Regions from separate parts of the Homo sapiens genome. Here region 2 is linked to region 1. The links are contacts of gene promoters, found by promoter capture Hi-C in blood cells and fetal thymus (Javierre and others, 2016). All regions are on one chromosome and are shown on one strand. The core of a region is centred on a gene start or on the middle of the fragment in contact, and the rest is flanking DNA. Distances in the headings are between cores, read along the strand shown.

Region 1 (4,681 bases), core at 1,405-3,904:
ACAAATCTAAGTACATGTTGTATATTAAGTCTTGCTGAATGCTACAATGGCAGAATCTACAGCATGAACCATCTGGATCAAATTGTGCTCTATGAAGGAATGAGAAAATAAGCTCTGCTTTTTAGAGCTAGTTATAGCTAGCACTTTGTGGTTTTTTTTTTTTTTTTTTTTTTTGAGACAGAGTGTCACTCTGTCGCCTAGACTGGAGTGCAATGGCACGATTTCAGCAACCTCTGCCTCCCAGGCTCAAGCGATTCTCCTGCCTCAGCCTCCTGAGTAGCTGGGATTACAGGTGCAAACCACTACCGTCCGGCTAACTTTTGTGTTTTTAGTAGAGACGGGGTTCCACCATGTTGGCCCAGCTGGTCTCAAACTCCACACCTCAAATGATCCACCCACCTCAGCCTCCCAAAGTGCTGGGATTACAGGCGTGAGCCACCATGCCCTGCCACGCCAGGCCAAGGTAGCACTTTTTAAACGAAAGTATTTAGAAGTAGACTCTAAAAGTTCAAAATTCAACACAGGGTTGAATTTTACCCATTCTGGTCATCTAAGTCCATACATTTTCAATTCATCTTTGTTACTGACTTATCATAGACCATCCTAAACATCTCTCCCATATCTAAAGATTTAAAAAATAGATGCTCAAGCCAGGTGCGGTGGCTCCCAGCACTGTAATCCAAGCACTTTGGGAGGCTGAAGTGGGAAGAATGCTTGAGCCCAGGAGTTCAAGACAAGCCTGGGCAACATAGCGAGACTCCTTCTCTAAAAAAATACAAATAAATAATAATGTAAAAAAATAAAAATACAAAAATAGATGCTCAGCTCTCACTCTTATGAATGGATCAATAAAAGTGCACTATGTTATTTTGCTCTTTGGTCAGCTAAAATGTGAGCTAGGAAAATTCACAGAATGATGTTCTCAAGATACCAAAAACAAGAAAGGCCACTACTGTCCACCTTTCCAACTCTTGTCTGTAGTTAAACCAATCTGGACATTGGCTGTAGTTAAACCAAATCAACTACCTGCTTATTCACAGCATTCATCGTGTCCTACATTTTGATACAACTATTTTCATTCATTCTTTAAGAATCTGTTCATGTCAGGTCCTGTGCTAAACGTGAACAGAAAAGTCTCCATCTTGCTTGTATTCCCAGCACTTTGGGAAGCCAAGGAAGGGAGGATGGTTTGAGGCCAGGAATTCAAGGCCAGACTGGGAAACACAGCAAGACTCCTTTACTACCAGAAATTTTTAAAAATTAGCCACTCATGGTGGTGCATGCCTATAGTCCCAGCTACTTGAGAGGCTGAGGCAAGAGCATCGCTTGAGCCCAGGACTTCAAGGTTACAGTAAGCTATGATTACACCACTGCATTCCATCCTGGGTGACAGAGCAAGACTCTGTCTCAAACAAGTCTCCATCTTTGAAATGTTCACAGCCTAGAGGACAAAATAGAAACAACCAGTCGATTAACCAGTATTTACTAAGTGCCTACAATTTTGAAATCATTGTATTGCTTTAACAAAGGCAAGTAGGTTCAACTCAAAACTTGTTCATACGTATCTCATGCGGTTGTTAAAAGTATGTTGCTCTTGTTTTTCCAACCCGATGAAGCCTGTTCCCAAGGCAGGGACTGTCTCCTCCTACAATCTCACAAAGCCAAGCAAAGGGCTGGGCACAAAGCGGGCACTTGGCAAGTCTAATGAAAAAGAACTGTTGAGAAAGAATACGAGTTCCTGACTCTTCCCAGTCCCCATCTTGTCAGAAGATGTCTCAGCCACCCTTCTCTGATTCAGCATCTCTTCCCATGAAGGGAAAGGAACTCGAGGGTGCTGTCTGTCTGGGATCTGTTTTTTCCACGCCACACTCCTATCCTCACCCCACAAAAGAGATCAGTAAACTGACAAGTGCCTACGGAGGGTAGAGAGGCCCCCTCCTTCTTTCCTAGCTGCCCCCCGACCCTGTGCCTAAGACAGCTCACCAACCCCACGGTTTTCAAATCAAACCGTATTGTCACCTATGGGTGACTTTGGGTCAGTCGGCGACACCTCGCTCTGAGCGTCAGTTTCCTCATCTGTAATAAGCTAATCATCTCTCAGAGGCTTGCAGGGAGGAATAAAATAGTGCCTGGCAAGTGCTCGGCGTACGCAGTCACTACTCGATACGGGGTAAGTGTTATCCTTTTGAAAGGCGGCAGGATGACAAAGCCGAGGGGGCGCAGCCTGAAGGCCCGAAGGAGGTTCGGGGCAGGCTGACTGAAGACAGAAGGCCGAGCGGGCTGACAGGGCGGAAGGCCGCGGCGGGAAATGCGGGAAAGGCGGGAAGCAGCGAAGGCGGGCGGGCGGTCTGGGCATCAGCTCCGGCGGCGGCAGCCCGCATCCCCTCACCTTCCTTCTCGCCCACCTCGTCCCCCCCTCACCTCGCTTGATCACATGCATCGCAGCTAGTGGCTGAGGCTCTGAAGGATCCAAGACTGGACTGCGGCTCTAAAGCGCCGGCGGGATCGAGAAGGTGACAGAGTGGGAAGGGTTAGGTTCCAGGCGCTGCTCAGGGGAAAGAACTGGAGTTGGAGCCAGACAGCACTTTCTTCAGAGCAGAGGCGCAACAATCCAAATCCCCTTCCCGCGCCCGCCACCCGTGACGCACAAAGGGGCGCGACGGGGTTCGAATGACGTTACTCGACGCTGCGGCCCACGCCCGGGGTAGGCTTCACAGACTGACAGGCGACGTGTAGCCGCCATGTTGAGTCTGGGCAAGACCCAGAAGACTACGCCTCTCCCATGGGCCCCATTGGATATGGACATGCCCGGCGGAAATGCTGCTCTCCTGCTACCATGTTTTGTGTGGGCAAGCCGAGTTCGGGACCCTCGGGGCCCTGGCGTAGCACCTAGAGCCCGCTGGGTCAGGCGCCGCCCTCTCACCTGCGCGTCTCCGCCGGAGGAAAGGCGGTTAATTTATTTTTGAAATAACAAAACCTAACCGGCGGGAACGTTTTTCTTGCTCTGACATTTATTATAATAATACTAACACTGCCGTCCGCTGTGGGCTCCAGCCCAGGCTCCACAGCCGTGGGCAGCTTGGAGCCCCAGGGCTTTTAGATCGGCCAGAGGACTGACACTCTGGAACTGGAAGAAAACCGCGCAAGGCCGATGGCGTTTGGATTTTATCCTGACGCAAATCAGAGCCCTGAGAGAATTTTAAGCAGGGCAGGGTCAGTACCCATTTGCTTTTAGGGTTCTTCAGTGGATGGTGGCAGAGACAGGGTATTTGCCTTGTGGAGGTAGGATGGACTTGGTGACTTAGAGTGGAGAATAAGAATAGATGAGAACCGTAATATGTAAGGCTGGTGTAGAAGCTTCTGATTTGGGCTACCCAAAGCGATCTTTATGAAATTTCATCTGTGGCATCTTTTCCCTAAAGCCTTTTCGTTGGTTTCTCACTGCCCTCCAGAAGCTGCCCAGGCTCCCTGTGAAGTAATTTCAAAAATCATGGAAAGTCGTAAGTGAGCCTGTAATTGCAGCATTTTGGGAGGCTAAGGCGGGAGCATCATGTGAGGCCAGGTGTTGAGATAAGCCTGGGCAACATAGTGAGACCCCATTTCTACAAAAAATAGAAAAAGTAGGCCAGCGCGGTGCTTCACTCCTGTAATCCCAGCACTATGGGAGGCCAAGGCGGGCAGATCACGAGGTCAGGAGTTCGAGACCAGCCTAACCAACGTGGTGAAACCCCCCCGCTGCTAAAAATACAAAAAGTAGCCAGGCATGGTAGCACGCGCCTGTAATCCCAGCTACTCAGGAGGCTGAGGCAGAAGAATCGCTTGAACGCTGGAGGCAGAGGTTGCAGTGAGCCAAGATCGCGCCATTGCACCCTAGCCTAGGCAAGAGAGTGAGACGCCGTCTCAAAAAAAACAAAAAAAAAGAAAGAAAAATTAAATAGATATGTTTTTTAAAAGTCGTAAGTGAAGTTATAGGATAGATAGGGTCAAGTTTACCCAGACATAGGGTTTCCCAATTTAGCAAATAAAAATGTGTCCCAGATACTGCATGAGAGAAAATTATACTTTAAAAACTGTTTATCTGAAATTCACATTTAACTGGTCATCCTGCATTTATCTGGTAACCCTGCCCACAGAGCTTCTGGGCATGTGCATTCAAGTTTCATTTTCCCTGGGCAAAGGAAAGATTGTCTCTTTATCCCATCATGCCACAGCACAGAGAACACAATGAGAGTCAAAGCCAGCAGTGGTTAAAATCTCCTACATGCTTTATTGGACTTCAAAGAATTTTATGAAATAACACAGAAAACCCCATTTGAGGGTGTCCAGGGAGTACAAGGCAGTCTGCAGCCTAGCACCCTCCTAAGACCAGCCCCAGGTATACCCACCCCAGGCCCAAAATAGGATCCCAGGATAAAGGTATGGCAGGGAGTGGGGCAGAGGAAAAATACCTTTACAGCCATAGCAAAAACAGGTAAGGGAGAGAGTTGTCTAGAGGGTGGGAAGGGTGGGGGAAAGTGGTCACACAGCCGCCTTCACCTATACCATCTTCCTTAGCCACCCCTTCCCCAAACTGGTTGTGTCCTTTTTGAGCCTCTGGCCAAGGCTACAAAGTAACATGAAAATGGGATCTAACAAGGGGAATATGCAGCGTAGGCACTTGGGAAATTCAGATTACTTTTTT
Region 2 (4,681 bases), core at 978-3,477, 520 kb before region 1:
ACTGTGGAAAATGTCAGGCCTTAAACTTTTTTTGAAATGTATTTTTGCTCAATAGAATGCATCTTGTTTGACATGGTGTGAATATATTTGTCCCTCTAAACTTTATATATTGGAACTTAGTGTGATCGTATTAAGTAATAGAGCCTTTAGGAAGTGATTAAGCCAGGAGGGCTCTGCCCTCATGAATGCGATTAGCAAGCTTATAAAAGGGCTGGAAGGGATGCATTAAGCCCTCTTGCCCTTCTGCATTTTCTGCCATGTGAAGACGAAGACACAGCATTCATCCTCTCTGTAGGGCACAGAGTTTAAGGTCCCATCTTGGAAGCAGGTACCAGGCCCTCACCAGACACCTAACCTGCCAGTGACTTGGTCTTAGGCTTCCCAGTCTCCAGAACTGTGAGAAATACATTTCTATTCTTTATCAATTACTCAGTCTCAGGTATTTTGTTATAACAGCATAAATTGACCAAGACACTGCCCAAAAGAATGTAGCTGTTTCTCCCTAAAGAATACTCTCAATGCTGCACTGGGGTGCTTGGAACAAAATGGACAAAGAGGAGATGGAAAAGGAAGTGTGGAGGTTTTGTAATATGCATAATACTTAAGGGAAGAATGGCATATTGCAAATTTTAATTTGAGAAAACAGAAGTGTTTCATACACCATTTCCTTCAAATAAAAAATTATTTAAATAGGTGGATTTTTTTCTCACATTGTAAGGAAATCATAGTTTCACTCTTCTTTTTATGTATTTATTTATTTATTTTTAATTTTATTATTATTACACTTTAAGTTTTAGGGTACATGTGCACAATGTGCAGGTTTGTTACATATGTATACATGTGCCATATTGGTGTGCTGCACCCATCACCTCGTCATTTAACATTAGGTATATCCTGAGTTAATTTCCGGGCTCTAGACACCAAACGATAGACACCAACTGACAAATAAAACAGTTCTGAAAACCTGAAACCATCAATCCTGTTTTTTCCCCTTGTGTTTCCTTTCTGGTCTCTCCCCAGAGAGCATTATAATTCTCTTTAAGGACTGTGGCCAGTGATGGCAATGTGGATCTAAATTTCTCTTTGACTAGGGAATGAGCTATTATACTATGTGGTAGCCATGTTTTGTTCTGAGGACTTACTTGTGTTTTCCAAGTTTTTGTGAATGTAGAGCTTGTGCTTGTGGTGGGTATTTGTCATTCACTGTAGCTGGCACTTGAGTGCTCTTCCTATGTTTGACCAATTTTCCTTTTCTTGGGGCGTCTACTTCTCCCAAAGAAAAGCCATAGAAGTCACCTTCCTACCTAATTAATCAGCTTTCATACCATGACAGAAAATCCAAAATCTCAGGGGCATACAACAAATGTTTTCACTCACACGTCATGTCCTTGGCTGCAGATAGGTTGCTAGGATCCCAGTCCACATGTCTTTGCATCCAGGACTCAAGCTGAAGCAGGAGCCCCTCTTTGTGATATGCCTTTATTGTGACAATGAGAAAACAACAAAAGGTGGTACAAACATGAAATGTCTCTTAGAGCTTCTCTATGGAACTGAAACACTTCCCTCCATTCCTATTTCAACGACCCAAGATGGTCATATAGCCAAGTCTCATAATGTCCTAGAAAGCATTCTCCAGCTATCGGGAAGCACTGTGAGTCATGAGGCAATGGATGAGATTGTATGTCCCCCTCACAAAAAGGGAGAAAATAGATGGGAATAATCACCCACCATGGGAGAAGGCATTTTGTCTAAGTGCTGTCAATCATGCACACCTCCAGGAAGCCAATTCAGAAGCTAGGAAAATAAAAGCAAAATGCCACATTGAATCATTCTGGTGAAGAGTGCTGACAGAAGAGTAAATCTTCCAGAGATATCAGAGGCAGAGATTCTAGTGTCAGTCTCTGCACCCAGGTTTAGGAGTGAGATCCTAGTTGACTATGCTCAATGGAGCCAGTAGTGGTAGTTCCATCAGAGTGGACCTATGGGGTAATTTGATGATGTTCCTGCATACATCATCAATGGACTACCAAATGTTCTTTAATAAGTCCTTTTTATGCTTAAAATAGGTTTCTGGCATTTTCAACTCTTGTTTTTAGTAGGCATTTTGATTGACTGGCTCTTCTCTCAGTTGTCTGCTATTCACGTGGCAATGAGTTAGGCCAAATCCCTACAAACACATTTTACACTCTGATAAGAAGACTATATAATTTAGTATTTTCCACTATAGAGAATATGCCTTCTCTTCCAGTACCTTCTGAACAATTATATAATGCAATTATATAGTTGGCCACAAAACAGTTTCCCAAATGATAAGTTATAATGGCATTTTTTAAACTCTTATTGCATTGTGGTTATAAAATGCTAACAAACCTAAATAAATTATATATATAGAGAGAGAATTTCAATTTAATTAAGTAATTTCAAGAGAAAAGCAAATTTGAAACTGTGCTTAATAATTTTTTTAATAACAAATGATAACGAAAGCACCAAGATGATTTATGGTATATAGCCTGACTTATATTTAGGGAAAACTTTACACTCCTCAATCAATGCAAGAAGCAAGAAAAATAAGACAATAAATATAAGTAAAATAAATCAAGAAAAAATAATAAAGATAAAATCAGAAAAAAATTGAAATAACAAATTAACAGGTTCTTTGAAAGGAACAATCAATTAGACAGATCTTTGGAAAGAAAGATATGTCACTCAGAAAAAAAAACATAAAGTAGTGGTAAATATATAATATCAGGGATTAGAATCAAGAAAAAAACTCAAAGTAATGGCAAATAAAAATAAAAATAATTATTTGTGTAATTGTTCATAACCATGGAGACACTGATACTTTGAGAATAGTAACTTACTGAAACAGATTCGACATTTAAAGAACTTGAATTAGACATCAAATACAAGGACATATAAAGCTACTTCTTCTTGTTTTAATCTAATGCAACTCTGATATCAAAACTAATAACAGCATTTGGCTTGTTCTGCTTCCCACTGTACAAAAGTCTTACTGTTAGTTGTGTGTCACTATTAACAATTGCTATTGTAATATACATCTATATTCTGATATATACCTTTTTATTTAGTTATTTATGTCTCTCTGTCTCATGCACACACACACACACACACACACACACATATGCTGCCATTTTCCTGTCCATGGCATCTCACACTGAAACTGCCCCACCACATCCTTGCTAGATCTTCCTATTACTGTTCCTTTCGTCTGCTTCTGAAATTGTTCTCTCTTTTCTACTTCCTGCTTCTTAATTTTTTGGAACACTTAAACTCTAATATAAAATCTAGGTGACAGCCTCAACCCAGAAGCACTTTCAGAAAGGCTCTCCACCACCTGTAGACAGAATTCTATGTTTTAATTTCTAGACTCACTTCCCCTTCCATCCCTGACCTCCTTCCTCTGCCAAAGTGAAAGTGGTAACGAAGTCCTGCAGATTTTCCCCTCTAGGCAGGAATTTCCTCTCTCTTAGCCAAGGCTAGCACTGAGTAGATAGGGACGGGAGGCCCTAATCTCCTACTTGGACTCCTGGGAGATGTCAGTTTTGCCTTCTGGAAACTGAAAACAATCTGGAATAGAGGAAACAGGAGGTATTAACTCCATCATAAGAGGTCCAGTAGGAGACTTTCAAGGTGGAGCGGGGTATCTACTCATGGTCTAGGCTATACTCCTACCCTCCTCCTTCCACCCCTAGCAGGTTCTCCTGCTGACTGACACACCACTAACACAGACAGCTATTTCTTCCCCTTTAAAGCCTTCAAGACTAAGATTATATTCTCATCAAGCCTAAGATTATACAAAACTAACTGAGGGTGTGGCTCATGCTTCCTCAGAAAGAGTAAGAGAAGAAAATAAATTAGGGGTCTCTAAGCAAGCATGTTGTATGACATGCAATAAGGTCAGTCTCTGGTCTCTTTCCAGAAAACCAGGCCTCAGATTTGTACTAACCCCCTAACTCTTCCTTAGTCCTACTTCTTCAGTGCCCCAAACAGTTCTCAGTTCTTGCTTCTCCTTTGATGCTACTCCTCCCCTAGAGCACAGATGGACACCATCCTACAGTTAGCCACTCATCTTGTTGTCCTGGTCTATCCTGGATTCAGGGCAGAGGGTTGGGGTCTGCAGCTACAGCTGTGGAATTTGTCCACGACAGAGCCTCACCTGGACACACCTGTCTCACAGCAAACAAATAAAGAAACAAACAAAACATTCTGAAGACATCTGTAAAGGAAAGCTTCTATGCCTTGGAAGTAAACTGGTCTGTCTTCAAAAGCCCTCTCTCCAGCCTTCCCCACATGAACGCAAGCCCCCACCCCCAGCTACCCTGATTGCCAGGGTTCTTGACAGTCCGTCATAGTTACAAATTGCACCTTACACATGAAAATGATCTCCCCATTAACTGTTTTAACTTCACAGAGATTCCAGAGCAGTACAACCAACTTGACCTTCAGCTCCTTAAAGGCAGAGACTATATGTCCCATAGTTGTAATCCCAGCACCCAGTAAAATATTGTCAAGAAAATTGATGTTAAATAAATGTTTAAAATGGCTTATTTCAATTAATCCATTCATTATTCTATTAGAGCAGCCATTTCTCCAAAACTGGGTGAGACAGAGGGTACAGCTCAGACCTAAGATACTTTTGTTTTTTCTCATAGACCTATTT

The links. The method cuts DNA at HindIII sites, captures the fragments that hold promoters and counts their contacts. A CHiCAGO score of 5 or more calls a contact.
Region 2: a fragment that was not itself captured here is called in contact with the fragment with the promoter of RRM1 in region 1 in 1 of 17 cell types (naive CD8 T cells); the score reaches 5.6 in naive CD8 T cells.

Annotation. Positions count from the first base shown.
Region 1 is chr11:4,092,772-4,097,452 of GRCh38, reverse strand. It overlaps RRM1 (ribonucleotide reductase catalytic subunit M1), which reads right to left and starts at 2,654. Exons shown (of 19, transcript NM_001033.5): 1 at 2,422-2,654. The coding sequence starts at 2,440. STIM1 (stromal interaction molecule 1) reads right to left here. Exons shown (of 13, transcript NM_001382567.1): 13 at 4,245-4,681. RefSeq lists enhancers at 2,425-2,894, 2,955-3,024. The HindIII fragment of the contact is 7,950 bases long and covers 1-3,359 here.
Region 2 is chr11:4,609,223-4,613,903 of GRCh38, reverse strand. No RefSeq gene overlaps it. Among named protein-coding and RNA genes, the nearest start is that of TRIM68, 3.3 kb to the right of the region's middle. The HindIII fragment of the contact is 4,051 bases long and covers 202-4,252 here.